Regions from separate parts of the Homo sapiens genome. Here regions 1, 3 and 4 are each linked to region 2. The links are contacts of gene promoters, found by promoter capture Hi-C in human tissues and cell types (Jung and others, 2019). All regions are on one chromosome and are shown on one strand. Each heading gives the region's core, a stretch centred on a gene start or on the middle of the fragment in contact. The rest is flanking DNA. Distances are from core to core; before and after follow the strand shown. Region 1 has its middle 5.1 kb from the start of SMARCA2. Region 2 holds the start of DMRT2 (doublesex and mab-3 related transcription factor 2). Region 3 has its middle 400 kb from the start of SMARCA2. Region 4 overlaps LOC105375951 (a long non-coding RNA gene).

What was found. Contacts are between HindIII fragments. The study calls those that stand out against the background at their distance.
Region 1: a contact is called between a fragment that was not itself captured here and the fragment with the promoter of DMRT2 in region 2, in 1 of the 25 tissues and cell types used here (hippocampus).
Region 3: a contact is called between a fragment that was not itself captured here and the fragment with the promoter of DMRT2 in region 2, in 2 of the 25 tissues and cell types used here (H1 embryonic stem cells and lymphoblastoid cells).
Region 4: a contact is called between a fragment that was not itself captured here and the fragment with the promoter of DMRT2 in region 2, in 2 of the 25 tissues and cell types used here (dorsolateral prefrontal cortex and mesenchymal stem cells).

What each region holds. Positions count from the first base shown.
Region 1 is chr9:2,008,142-2,012,355 of GRCh38, reverse strand. No RefSeq gene overlaps it. Among named protein-coding and RNA genes, the nearest start is that of SMARCA2, 5.1 kb to the left of the region's middle. The HindIII fragment of the contact is 5,967 bases long and covers 1-4,214 here.
Region 2 is chr9:1,049,107-1,051,606 of GRCh38, reverse strand. It overlaps DMRT2 (doublesex and mab-3 related transcription factor 2), which reads right to left and starts at 1,250. Exons shown (of 4, transcript NM_181872.6): 1 at 832-1,250; 2 at 1-37. RefSeq lists an enhancer at 609-1,478. The HindIII fragment of the contact is 14,990 bases long and covers 1-2,500 here.
Region 3 is chr9:1,608,571-1,612,715 of GRCh38, reverse strand. No RefSeq gene overlaps it. Among named protein-coding and RNA genes, the nearest start is that of SMARCA2, 400 kb to the left of the region's middle. The HindIII fragment of the contact is 5,656 bases long and covers 1-4,145 here.
Region 4 is chr9:1,943,017-1,946,994 of GRCh38, reverse strand. All of the region lies in intron 2 of LOC105375951 (a long non-coding RNA gene), which reads right to left. Among named protein-coding and RNA genes, the nearest start is that of SMARCA2, 70 kb to the left of the region's middle. The HindIII fragment of the contact is 4,864 bases long and covers 1-3,978 here.

The DNA of each region.
Region 1 (4,214 bases), core at 679-3,178, 960 kb before region 2:
TTTAAAACTTGGTATCTGGATACAACACCCTCATAAAGAAAAATTCCATGCACAACGTTAGGAAGCTTCTAGTCCCAACAGACAAACTGTTAATGCTGCCTGAAATGTTGCCTAGCTTCAAACACGAGCAGGTAAGACCGTTTAGGCAGTGAGTATTTCATCTTCAGTAATGGAAACCAAGATTTGACAAATTGAATCAGCTGACATTTAATTTAAAGAATAGTTTAGAATTAACAAGTAAATTTATTACAGAAATAAACACTCCTCTCTCTCCTTTTTTCTTTTTTTCCTTTTTGAGTCAGAGTCTCGCTCTATTGCCCAGGCTGGAGTGCAGTGGCGGGATCTTGGCTCACTGCAACCGCCGCCTCCCAGGTTCAAGGGATTCTCGAACCTCAGCTTCTCGATTAGCTGGGATTACAGGTGCCCGCCACCATATCCAGCTAATTTTTGTATTTTTTGTAGAGACAGGGTTTCACCATGTTGGCCAGGCTGATCTGGAACTCCTGAACTCAAGTGATCCACCCGCCTCTGCCTCCCAAAGTGCTAGGATTACAGGGGTGAGTCACCACACCCCGCTCTCTCTTTTTTTTCTAATGGGCATGTTCAATAAATTATGTTTTTCACAATCATTCCCCCAAAATACCACCCCCAATTCTCTTTATGATTATATCGTTCTTTAGCTTAAAATCCTTTGTCTATTCCCAATCCATTTTACGGTAAGTTTCAAACTTCTTGGCATGTTATCCTAGGCTGTGCATAGACAGGTCTCTACCAGCGTTGTTGACCCTGCCGCCAAAAATGCCTGGGCTCAGGGAAAACCTGTCTACCGTTTGGTTCCTAAGTGACCACATTGGACATTCTCCCCTCTGACTGAAGTGCAGATCCTCAACCCACATCCTCAAAACTCAACTATGACCCAGAATCCTTCTAGTGGTCTTCCCTGTTCTCCCCAGGCAGAGGAAGCTGCTTGTCCTACTCTGCTCCCATAGCAACCGGTGTGCGCCTCCATTATAGCACTTATCACTTTGATGCAATTATTTGTTTGGTGTTGTCCTCTAGATGGTTAGTGCCTGGAGGGTGTTTCGATTCATCTTTGAAACCTCAGCAATTACCCTGATACCTAGCACATTGTATTTAAAAAAAGAAAAGAAAAAAAAACTTTGTTGAAGGAAAGGATGAGAGATAGATAATAAAATTACCTGACATAGAAAATTTAGCCGGTCTTCACTATTAGTAATTATCATGTTAATGAACAACATCAGTAAGTGTTCCGAATCTTTACAGTATCTGCCAAGGCTTGAAAACGCTTGGAAAATGTGTTTGGTTTTTGTTTGGTTTTGTTTTGTTTTGTTTTGGGGAGGGGGGATGTGGGAAGATGAGGAGAAGCTACAGCTCTTGTAGTCATAGAAAGAGCACCGACAAGAGGTTTTGTTTGTTTTTAAATTAGGCTAGGAGTAACATGAATGCATACATGGCAATTGTTTAATACAGTAGTCACAATTATAATTGCAGCTCCTTTTTATTTCTCTTTTAAATTACATGCCTGAAGTTGTACAGAGACTTGTACATATGTTGTTTAATCCATTTAACCCTACGAGATCTATGACTTCATCTCCATTTTACAGGTGAGGAAACTGAGAATCAGGAAGTAATTTGCCTAAGGCAGGGATCTCCAAAGCGGAGTGACCAAGACAATTTACTGTGAAATAGGAAGAACAGAAGAAAATCTGTTTCTTTTTTCTTTAATAATTGAAAAAAGTAATGATGCAAGGACAAAAAAGAGCTTTATGTATATTTATTATACTCATTGACCCTTGACCCTAGAGTGTTTTACATGGTCCCTAAGTAAACTGGTCATGTGTCATGTAGTGTAGCTGAAGAGTACTGAAAAACAAAAAGCGCCACAGGCAGAGGGGTGATACTGGCACCTTCTGGTTCTTTCATTGTCATTGACATCTTTTTAAGCATTGATATTGCCTTAATTTTACAGGTTCCACGTTAAATAAATTCTTAAGATTATATCATCTAGTTTTTTTTTTTGTTTGTCTTTGTTTTTGTTTTTGTTTTTTGAGACAGATCTCGCTCTGTTGCCCAGGCTGGAGTGCAGTGGCTTGATCTCTGCTCACTGCAAGCTCCGCCTCCCGGGTTCACGCCATTCTCCCGCCTCAGCCTCCCGAGTACCTGGGACTACAGGCGCCCGCCACCACGCCCGGCTAATTTTTTGTATTTTTAGTAGAGACGGGGTTTCACCGTGTTAGCCAGGTTGGTCTCGATCTCCTGACCTCGTGATCCGCCCACCTCAGCCTCTCAAAGTGCTGGGATTACAGGCGTGAGCCACCGTGCCCGGCCTATATCAATCAACTCTCTTATTTGGGGAGCACGTGGCTTAAAAAACAATTTCTGTGAGGAAATAGAAAATTGAGATAATACCAATAATATAAGCACAGGTGAAAATCAGGATCAAATTTGCCAGTTTAACCTCTGAGAACTCTTTTCCAGCCAAATTGAGGACTAAAACAATGACAGCCTAATGAGATCTAACAAGAAATAGGTCAGGCCGGGCGCTGTGGCTCACGCCTGTAATCCCAGCACTTTGGGAGGCCGAGGCGGGCGGATTACCTGAGGTAAGGAGTTCGAGATCAGCCTGGGCAATACGGTGAAACCCTGTCTCTACCAAAAATACAAAATCAGCCGGGCGTGGTGACACACGTCTGTAATTCCAGCTACTCGGGAGGCTGAGGCAGGAGAATCGCTTGAGCCTGAGAGGCAGAGGATGCGGTGAGCCAAGATCACGCCATTGCACTCCAGCCTGGGCAACAAGAGTAAATCTCCATCTCCCCCCAAAAAAAAAGAAGAGAAAAAAAAGAAATAGGTCAAAAACATTCATAATTTTCCAGGACTATTTGAAATTTGGATTTATATTAACTTTCATAAATGATTAATTCTGTTCTAAGCATGTATGTTTCCTTGAGATACTATTGATTGTATGATAGCATGCTTAGCAAGATAATTGAAAATTTTCTATTCATCTTATTCTTTTACAATTTTTATTTTGTGTATGTTTTATAATGCACATAATATATTAATAATGAATACATGTGTTATGAGTAAATATACATAAATCATGCTCTATCTTTTTTTTTTTTTTTTTTTTTTTTTTTTTTGCTTTTTAACTGTAAGGGGTATGTGATTAAACAACTTGGAGATGACTAAATGATGAAGTCAGAATTTTTAACTAAGCTTGGTAGAACTCCACACTCAAGAGTAATCTGTGTTGCTCATGTAAAAACTGCCCCAAAATTTGTCATCAGTACAGGGTTCTTAATCCGTGATGGAGGGTTGATGGGGGTGGAATACAAATGATCTTTGGAACATCTAAGAATCCCCTGAAACTGTGTTCAAAATCCTAGGATCGTGTTAATGTATGCTTTCTGCAGACAGAGTCTGTACATTTCATCAGATTCTCAAGGGGATCTTCCCGGAAAGGGGTAAGAGTCATTGACCCAGAGGTATCAGCAGCCTCAATAACCTAGGATAATTTTCTGGTAAGAAATTAATCCTCTCCATAACTTTTATAAAACTAAGTGTGCACATTTTGTATATCCAAACATATCTACCCTTTAAAATCCTAATTCAGTGTTTCTTTAGGTAAACCAAATGCATTCTAACTGCCCAAAGAAGGACTCCATTTATCTCCAGAGATGGGCTTTCTGAGGATAAGTTTATTCTAAAGCATTTCCTCAATAATACTGCATTATATATTGTTGACTAGACTAGAAAGAATTTTTTGTGTTGTCATCAATATATCTTTGAGGTTTTGACACATCTTTGGGCAGTTGTACATGAGGAATCAGAACATGAATTCAGGTTCTCAAATTTTCTGTCGTAAATTGTTCAGATATTTTCACTTTTGTTTGGCCATTGTACCTGCTACCCTTTGTTCTGTGCTGTGCTTCTCTGATTGATAATGTGCTTCGGTACCAATGTAACACTGTAGCTTACCTCTAAGCCCCTCAGCTAAATCCATATATTCATCTCCCATGCTGTTATATGATATTTTATTATAGTATTTTACTTTTTGACCACCTTCAGCTGTTATTGGGCTTATCTTTTCAGTTACTATTCATTGCTTTTTGTTGGTGTGTGACCCTTTTCCAGCTTGGCTTATGTTATGTCACCCACCAGATTCTTACTTCAAGTTCAGTACACAAAAG
Region 2 (2,500 bases), core at 1-2,500:
GGGGCTTCGCTGGGGCCTGAGCCTGGCGGCCCTCACTCTGGGGAAACACAAAGAAATCCAAAGACCCACCGGCCGCCGTCAGGGACCATCCCTGAGCCTCCGGCCCAAAGCTCCTGGTCTGCCCGCCTCCGGCCGCTTGAGTCATCCTGTTCTCATTACATGTCCCTCACTTCCAGGCCACACGTGCCTTTCCTGTATCTCCAGGGCCCCCAGGGATCCACAACCCAACAAAGGTTTTATTTTATTAATTCTAAGTGCTCTGTGAGTACCTGACCTTTAACCGTGGCCCTCTCTGGCTTTACACGGGCTTTCCGGACAAGTCCCTGGGTAACTCACTTATCACACACACACAAAATATTGTGTCCAAATAGGCAGCCCCAGGCCACTTGTCGGATTTCCCCATACTCAACTAGTATGGCCATGATGCATATAAAACTATCCGTGGAAGAACAGTTTTCCTTTGATTACAAGTGGCCCTTCAGACTCACTGAAGTACCACTCTATGCTTCCCAAATGCCTCTCATCAGCCTACACCACCACAAGGACCCCTCCTTGGGCTTGAAGAGGTCCTCTCACCCCCCTCCCCAAAATACTCAACTGAAAACCAAAATTTTGTTGTCATTAGCGTCCCATAAGGGCAAAGAGCACAATACAGACGCCCGTCCAGCCTTAATAGTACCTGAGGTGCACAGGGCTGAGCCGCGTGGGCTCTCTGTACTTAGGCCTTGGTTTATATATTTAAGGTAAGGCATCCAAGTCACACAGAAAAGGTGAAAGATGATTCACGCCCTTTGCCCTCCCTGACACCCCGAGCGGCATCACAGCACTCACCAAAACTTTGAGGCCCGGGCTGGTAGCCCAGTTAAAAGATATCCAGCTTTAGGATCTGGCGCTAGGGCTGCTGGCTGTGCATGCAAACAGAAATCGGGGTCGCTACCCTCAAACACGAGATCGGGAGCTGATAGCTGGAGGCCCGGAACGAACCCACTGGATGGTGGAGGGGGAGGGAGAAGGTAGGTGGAGGGAAGGAGGGAGGAAGCCAGTCAAGTCCTCAGCGACCTAGCCCAGCACATCCCGAACTCTGCAAAGTTCTGCTCGGTCTTCTGCAGCCTCGGGCGCCTCACCTTGCTGAGGCCGCTTTCGGCTTCCTCTGACCCAGGCTGGGCGGGAAAGGTCGGGCCGCCCCCGCCTGGCTCAGATCGCTGGCTCACCCGGCGGGCGCGCGCAGTTGCATTCAGCGCAGCGCCACTGGCTTCAGTCTGCAGACTGCGCTCCCCTTCCTAGTACTGTCCGCTCAGGCCCCGGAGCTTTACGTCCTCTGATTGGCCGGTTGTCAGGCGGTGTGAATACTGATTGGCCGAGGCACGCTGGCAGGGAGCCCTCCGCCTCCCGCGGTCTACACTCTTCTCTCTGAAGCGCTCCGCCAGAGTCCGCCTACCGGGCCTTCGGTGCAGCCGGCTCGCCTGTCCAGAATCTAAACCCGAGGTATGACGGTGCCTGCAAGAGAGAAGTCACCATTTATCTCGCGGACTGGGAAACAAGCAGAGATACATTCTTAGGAATGCGTTGTCCACAAGAGAAGGTAATAAACGACGAGGAAGAGATCAGAAAGACCAGTATTGGCCTCTATCAGCATCACAAGCATTTCTGCGACTCAATCAATCATTAATCCAAACTGGGCGTAAAAATGATGCCTCTCTTTCGGGGCGTACAGCGACATCCTTCTTTCTCCTGCAAGAGTACATCAATGGTTACCTGGCACCGAAACTCCTAGTTAGCATACAAATAGCCTGTTGATATTTCTGTGTCTAGTGCCACCTATTCTCGAAGTGCCAAATAGCTCCTCATTAACCTTCACCGAGCCCGTGTGGCAGGTGGCCAAGTCGACTACAAGTCACTTACATTTTTCTGTTATATCAGTTGCTATTACAGTTAATGTAGGGAAGATCAGAAATGCATGCTATTAAGAGAATTAGGTAAATCCATTCACACTAAGCATGCATTTAAACAAAGTTATTTTTAAAAAGATGACTACTTTTTAGTGTGCGTAGTTGTATTTATAGACTTTCTAACGACTCCCTCAAAAAATCCTTTACAAAATGTTTAACGATAAAAAATTTTCAACATATTAAAAGAAGGAATTAGTCTTCTAATTCAACGCTGCATTCTATTTCTTGAACTCAATTAAAAATAATATGGGCGCTTTTCTAACTGCATCTGTAAATAATCAAGACCTCTCGAGTAGGATCTGTTTAGGAGACTACAAAATTGGGTATCATTGCACTGAGTACATAGTAGGCCCGCAACAAATATTTGTTGAAGGGTGGGAATTCCTGACGTAATCCCAACGTTACTTTTGTCCGAGTTTGTCAGAATGTTAAAAGTTAACCTGGATCAGAGAAGTGGGAACAAAGGCAGCTTAGGAACTACCGCGACCAGCCAGAAGCACTATTCTCAAACCTTCAGTGATGTTGTAAAGTTCCTCCCCGGTGACCAGGCA
Region 3 (4,145 bases), core at 419-2,918, 560 kb before region 2:
AATGATTTGAAGCTCATATGTAGACAAAAAATATTAAATTTGGGTGGTAGGTACACTGGTGTCTGTATACTGTTTTCTATAGTTCTCAGTATGTTTAAAATTAAAAGTATGTTTCATAATTAAAAAAACAAATTTGATACTCTTTGAAATACTGAGAAAAGGAAGTTATGAGTTAATTCTGGGAATCTGGGAATTATTCTTCCAGAGCTGAGGATACTAAAAATGTAGTAAAATGCTAAGTCTCACCCTGTATCTCTTATAGGCTTCATACTTCCTATTCAAATTGCTGCGCTGAGATACATGGCAGTCTCTAACTTCCCTAACCCTTTTCTGTTCCCCTTCACCCTCAGCTCCCTCTAATCAATGGAATTGACCATTGGTCACCCTCAAGCTCAGGCAAAGCCAGTTCCCAATTCTTAACATGGACATTACACAATACACAAGGAAAGAAAGGAAGATAGTTTCCTTACAAAGGATATAGAGCAAACTCAAAGAAAGGAAGGAGATAATATCATAAAATAGAAAGTCCAGGAAGAACTTTAACAATTACTTTGTATGGTCCTAATTTTACAAAGAGGAAATTCTTACAGAGAAGAAGGACTTTTCTCAGTTGCAATAGCTAATTCATAGTGAAGTTTGGACACAGGAGAGCTCTCAGCCTCCCAGTCTAGGAATTTTTTACTGCTGCACCCATGTAACTAATAGAATTTTCCAGTTATAACAGAATCTTGGGATTACCTAGTCCATATCCCTTATACTTCAAGTACGAGAACAAAGACTTCCAAGAATACATTCATGGAAGACTTTAAGAATCGCCAAGTCAGCTTCATTCACACTGTAAGATACAGTGTTAACAAATTTAAGAATCTCATTCTTGAATATAAAAATAGCCCAGTCACTTAATCTGAAAATCAATAGTGGAATCAATTCTGAGAACTGTTGGGTCATCTAATTTGAGACGCTTATATCTGCACATCTTGTACTCTCTGTTGGGTGGCTTTCTCCATCTTCTTTGTCTAGAGAAATACTGTTCATCTATTCATCTACTACTTCCTTTGAGGAGTCTCTCCTGTCCTGCCAACACTGAATTGGTCTCCCTTTTTTTTATGCCTATGTAAGTTTTATAAGTGAATAAAAATAAAATGTTATAAGGGCTATCATATAATTTTATCATCTCTCGCTTGATGACAATTTTCTTGGGACTCAGCAGCATACCTGGTTAATCTCTGAAAAGTAATGCATGGTCAACAAATATTTTTGAATAAATTAAAGCAATAATGATTCACTCTAAATGTATGTATATTTCCTAAACGTGGATTTCGTCTTATGACTGACTCCAAAATCCTAAGATCAAAATTCCTATCACAAAATTTCCCATAGAGTGTATCATGAAACTTTGAAGCACTTTGGCAGGACATTCTTCAGTCATGAGTTGGGCAAAGATGGAATAGTCTACCTCTGAAAGCAGTAAATTTCCCATTGATTGGAAATGTTTAAAGACAGAATAGACAACAGCTTGGAAGGGGTGTCTTAGAGAAAATTCTGATTTCCTTTGGATGAGAACACTGGATTAGAGGTTGGACTAGATGTCTTCCAATAGTCCTAATTAGGACATTTCGTAAGACTCAGATTGTTTGTAGAGGGACTCGTCTATCAGTTGAGTCAATCATTCACTAGTGGGGAGAGACACAGAGTGGGAGACACAGGCAAGTAGCTTTGAGGAACTCAGCCTAACAGAGAAAATCACTCAGTCCTTTCAGCAGTAACACCAACAAGAGGGAGCCCACTTGTACTGGGTTGTCCAAAGTGGCAGCATGAAGTTAAGGGAATGTTTTGCAAATACCATGGCAATGGTAGAAAGAACATTCTCACAACTAAAATAATCTAAATTTACCTAACAATGGAATAAATTCCTTTGTGCAGGCATGGGTACCCCTACTCAGGTATTGTAGTGAAGAGTTCAGATGACCAACTGAGATGAGATCAGGTGAATTTTTTTTTTTTTTTTTTTTTGAGACGGGGTCTCCCTTTGTCTCCCAGGCTAGAGTGCAGTGGCTCGATCTCCGCTTACTGCAACCTCCGCCTCCCAGGCTCAAGCGATTCTCCTGCCTCAGCCTCATGTGTAGCTGGGATTACAGGCGCGTGCCACCACACCTGGCTAATTTTTTTTTTTTTTTTAAGTAGAGATGGGGTTTCAGCATGTTTGTCAGGCTGGTCTTGAACCCCTGACCTCATGATCCACCTGCCTCAGCCTCCCAAAGTGCTGGGATTACAGGCATGAGCCACGGCGCCGAGATTGGGTGAATTTTTAACCTCATTGAAAGGCTGGATTATATTTAGGGTGTCCATGCATCTCAGTTTTCCCAGGACAGTTCTAGTTTACATGTTTCCCTAGCATAATTATTAGTTCTACCCCATTTCGCTATCAAAAATGTCCCAGTTTGGAAGATAAATCATATAGTCACTCTAGTTATATTAAATGACTTTAAAGTCCCTTTCAACTTTAATTATCTTGCTCAGTGTTTTGCTTAGGAGTGGGAGATTTATAAAATAAAGAACATCTCAGCTGGACTAGAGGAGGATATTTTATTTTTAATTTTTGTGGGTACATAGTTGTATATATTTATGGGCTACATAAGGTATTTTGATATAGGCATGCAATGCATGATAATTACATCATGTAAATGGGGTATTTGTTGCTAGCAGAGGAGATTTTAGGCAGAAGGAGACATTCCCCAATATTCCACTGAATTTTCTCTTCCATCCTACAACTCCAAATATCACTATAGTGGAAAGTCCTCAAACTTCTGCTGAGAGGCTTTGGGTATGTGTCAAAGTCTTGAATTTTCACCTCCTCTGTGGAGACCAGCTCTTTGATGTCCTACAGACATCTCCAATGCAACAGAATTTGCATAGTTTTGAGGAAAAATATCATCAAAGTTCATTAAAAGTATCTTTCCTAAAAATTCACGCTTTTCATAAGAAAAATTCATATGTATATAATAAAATTAAAAATTATATACATGTGTTAACATTTTGTATTGATTTATAACAAAATTCATGTAAAGCTTCTTGATCTTATCACAAAACCAAGGAGTTATATATAGTGAGAATATACTATGCTAAATCTCACACTGTAATGAAAAGTTGCCATTCTTAGCCTGGTCCTGTTTGCCAATACTGTTTTCCTTCTCAATAAATATTTAAATGAAAATGGAGTCTTCAAAGGGAAAAGTGTGTGGGTGCTTGAAGTTTATATTTTCGTGTCTCTGATAAATGCTAGTGAATATCAGAGCTGAGGAAGGGTCACAGACTTTGACACATACCCAAAGCCTTGTCATAACTGTCTCTAGAGTGTCCACAGGTAAGTTAGAGAATATCTATTGGGAAAATGTAAACAAAGCTAGTGGTCACAGCACAATAAATTTTTTGGAGTAACCCTAATGAATTATGAGGAAAAGGAATCAGAAACTGGCCCAACTTAACTTTGCATTGAAGCATTCAGCATTACAGGAGGCCATCTGGTGTAACATCTCCTGTCCCAGAGAGTCTACAATTTTAATGGTGCTCAGAATCAGAAACACTTAGAACTGTTGAAAGGCCTGAGTTTATAGCCCAGTTCTGGAAATGTGGTCCAAAAACTGATAGCATTCAGCATCACCTGGATGCTCCTTGGAAATGCAGAATCTTGGGCTCCACCCCAGACTTGCTGAACCAGCATCTGCATTCTGGCAACATCTTAGGTAATTCATATGCACTTTAAAGTATGAGAAACACTGATCTAGCACACTCATCCAGCCAAAGCCTACAGGACTGGAATTTGATCTGGGCTGTTCCAGTCACTGTAACACTTAAGTTGCAGAATTAAACCAAACACACGACTGACACAGAGTGGGTAAACCCTGTGTGTTAATTTCCCTGCTCATCCTGTACAAAATCTTGTTCAGTCCTGGTCAGCCCCCAAGAATGGACTGGTTTACCATTTCCTCCCACTCCTTTTAGCTTAAATGGGTACCCTTCATTCTTAGAAAACATCCACAAACTTTGGCCCAGAAAGGCCTTCTTGGTCCATGACGCATGATCATCTTCTCACCCTCCACCTTCCTTTTGAGGATTTGGAAAGGCTTTCTCCCGGGGGAAAAAAA
Region 4 (3,978 bases), core at 897-3,396, 890 kb before region 2:
ATTGCAGATATAATTATGACATTTTATATATTTTGCAGTCTGTACCAAAGAGTTGTATTAATATCTACTATACCCTATAGCAGGAGAGAAGTTAGCACCTTAATGCTGGGGATTCAGACTCTGATTTTGCTGAGATTGAATCCCCCTGGCTATTTACTAATATAAATTTTGTGGTTAAAGGAAAACTCAGAAGCAGGTGATAATGGCTGCATCTTTCGCGGGACCAGCTGATTCATACAAATCATTTGTACAGTGCAGGGAGTGAAGCTAATTGCACTTGCACAATGTGTCTTTCATTGCCAAGATCTGCAGCAAAAGTCTAACTGCTTACTTCAGCCAAAGACGGATACAATGGGGCGTTGAGAAAAATTTAAATACGTAGCCATAGTTCACAGGAGAAATGTTTGGGAATTGATTTGCGGGGCTTGCAAATCAATACAATTATGACGAAGAAGCTGAAACTCCTGTTAGTGAAGTAACCTGGCAGTCAAGTATTTGTGGATTGAAGGGATGATTAAAAAGAGAGAGAAAAAAGTCCATCATTACTTTCAAATGTAGCTCAGGCCACAAAGCAGGGGTTGGTGATCCAGTCCACACTTTGTATTAAGAATTAAGTATTTCTGGTGAACAGTGAGCCAATAAGTAAACAAACAACATTTTGGGAGATGCAGAATAGACAGGGAAATAAAATGTATAGTAATGAAATATTCATAACCTTGCATTTTATGGACCTCAAACACTAGTTCCGTGATTTACCCTATTTCTGTATGCAGTAGTATGCGATCTGGCGAACAATAATAAAGATGGCATTAGAATGCTACTGCCTCAGTGTCATGGAGAAGGGAGGATTAATCAGTACTGTACGATAGCTGTAAACTTGAGTAAATAGAAGCACATATAGGTAGTTGCTTTCCTGCACACTTTATGTTTGGCCCATGGAAATGGGGGAGATGAGAAATAAAGTAATTATGAAAATGATGAGCATCAGCACCCAGCTTCACATAAATAAACACATCATTCTCTCAGGTCCTGGTTGCTCAGGGGTGCTGGTTCACACCAGCTGCTCCCAAGAGAATGTAGTGGTCATTATTTCACATCAAGAGTCATCTTTGCAGAGCTCTTGGCCCACTTTACCCCTAAATTCAAAATACTGTACTCTGTACCTAGTAGTCTCCTTACATAGGAAATAGTGGCCCAGTGTCTGTCTGGCTTTTGGCCTCACCCACTGTCAGAGGTCTGATCAGAAGGGACATGGAAATGCTGAATAAAACCTGGGAGGAAAAGACAGTCATACCATCTTGCTTCAAAGAATATCTCATGCATTCCTGCTTCATACCTGTCCCTTCATTTTTGAGCCAACCTCAAATTGCTGGTATTTACTATTTGTCCCAGATTTCATAGGCATAGTTGGCCTTTAGCCTGACCAGCGCTTCTGCCATGGTGTCTTCCTCCTTAGCAGGTCTGGTTTTGCTCCCATTTTGACTGAGGAGCTGTATATCACACTTGTTTGGTGCTGATAGTGCCCTTTGCTGAGATGAAACTATAGTAACAGGGCAATGCTCCATGAAAACTACTACATTATCTTTGCAATTTTCCTGTGTCTTGCAGACTTGTAAGTACTCTGCCAATCACTGGGTTCCTATTCTCCACACCCCCACTCCTTTTATAAATGAACAAAATTGCTTAACCATTAACATGCCTCTGAAGTATAAGCCTAGTACTCAGAATTGATCAGCTAAACTTCCCATGGGGCAAGCTTAAATGATTTTCATTAAAATTCTAGCATTGATCTTTTGATATTTACCTTGTCATGGTAAGTCACCATCTCTTCCATTTTCCTTAACAAGACAACACAGTAAGCCAAATATTCTTCAGTTATGTATTAATATTTTGAGGAGTATGACTTAGCATGCCTTTATTTCTTAACTAGACTTATGAGATACACTTACTGCTTCAGGACTGAAAGCGCACTTAAAAACCTTTCAAATGTGCAAATTATCTATTCCAGAGAGAACCAGAAATTATACCCCTATGGGTGACAAATATGCATAATCAATAGATTAACTGTAAGCCTTGGGGAATAAGTTGTTTTATGACCCTTGCTAATTCTCTATTTTCATCACTCAAAACTGGAAGTATAGTGATGAGCACAGAGTAGCAATAATAGGTTCTCGGTAAATGTTGAAGTGGATGAATGAATTCCATGGTCTTGGTGAATTTTTTTTTACCCCAAGACATGATGAGGTTGGATGTCGTGTTCTTACAGAGAAATCAATCCAAGATGGGATATATTATCAAGAGTGAGTTAAAGGACACTTAAATTAATTAAAACAAAGTATTTAATTGGCTTTTCCATATGCATACCTTGTCCCAGGATATATTTCCTTTTTCTATTCTTGTGTCTTCCTCTTCAAAGTTCTGGTAGATATTTTTACTTGGAATCTTCAAGTATACTCTTCTCTACCATCTATCATGGAAAATAGGGTTGCAGGCAGAACCGGGGCAGCATTTGCTCAATTCTAATTTCTGAATTTTCCTATATCATATGTGTGTGTGTGTATATATATATATTATATATATACACATATATATTATATATATACATATATATTATATATATATTATATACACATATATAATATACATACATATATATTATATATACATATATAATATATATACATACATATATATTATATATACATATATATAATATATATACATACATATATATTATATATACATATATATTATATATATACATATATATTACATATATTTTATATATACATGTATATCTGATGTGACACAAAAGAATAAGCAAGGCAGTAAACTGAAGTTCTGTGAAGCAATTGCCTGATTTTATTCTAAGCTTTAAAAGAAGATAAACTTATAATATTTTGGTCCAGAGGATTCCAATGAATTGACAGCGTTCAATGATTAAAAATGGTGAAGGGTAAATAAATCATTAAAAGTAATGACAGAAAACATCGCCTACCTTGGGAAACAAATGATGTGAGTCATCTCGTTACTTATGAAAAGCAACCCATTAGTGAATCATGAGTATCATCTGAGACACAGACTCTTCATTTGGGCTGCAGAATTGGTTCTAAACTCATCAAATTAGACGGATGCTCCCAGCCACACAATTCTGTCAACTTGTTCATTCAGGGCTTTTATGCTCCCTGTGAATATTGTCTAAAACAGTCCTTAAAAGGGCCGTACAGGTACTTTATTTCCAGAACGGTAATAATAGTAGGTCCCTAAATGAAGTTTTAGAGATACTAAGTTGCAAACTCTACCCTTTTCTTTTCTTTCACCTCCCACTGGCAACCTTATAAATGTTTCACTCCATAACATTTTGGTCTAAGTTGGATAAAACATACCTTCCTAGGGTTCTCTATTTGCTAATAGAAAAGGAGCCGAGTGTTGCCACTGAACTTGCTGGGAAGTGCTTTGACTTCAGGTGAGCTCACAATCAGCTTAGCACCGCAGTGCTGTGATTTGGGTCATAATTAAAAGATTTTACTATAGAAAATGACCGTGCTGTTTGCACATTCCTTTCATGTCCTTCAGGAAGAATGACATCAAGCACTTACTTGCCTTTTATATACTTTTTTTAAGGTAGCATAGTGAAATAGGAAAAGCCAAGGTTGTAAAAAATAGACCTAGCTCCAAATCCTGGCATTGGCAATTAGGAACTTTGTGAACTGGGCAAATTACTTAACATCGTTGAGCTCTGGTTTCTTCAAGTGTGCAATGCACCAATAACACCAGCCTTGCAAGATTCTTATATGGATTAAATTAAATTAAATATTTAAAGCATTTGGTATTTTGTAGGCATTTATTAAATGTTGTTTATCATCGTTATACCTTCTATTATCTCTTTCTAAATTTCTATTTCCTCCAATAGTATGCTCCTCTGTGAAATTGTGTGATTATGTCAGGTTCTAAACAATTTGATAAAAGCTTATAAGA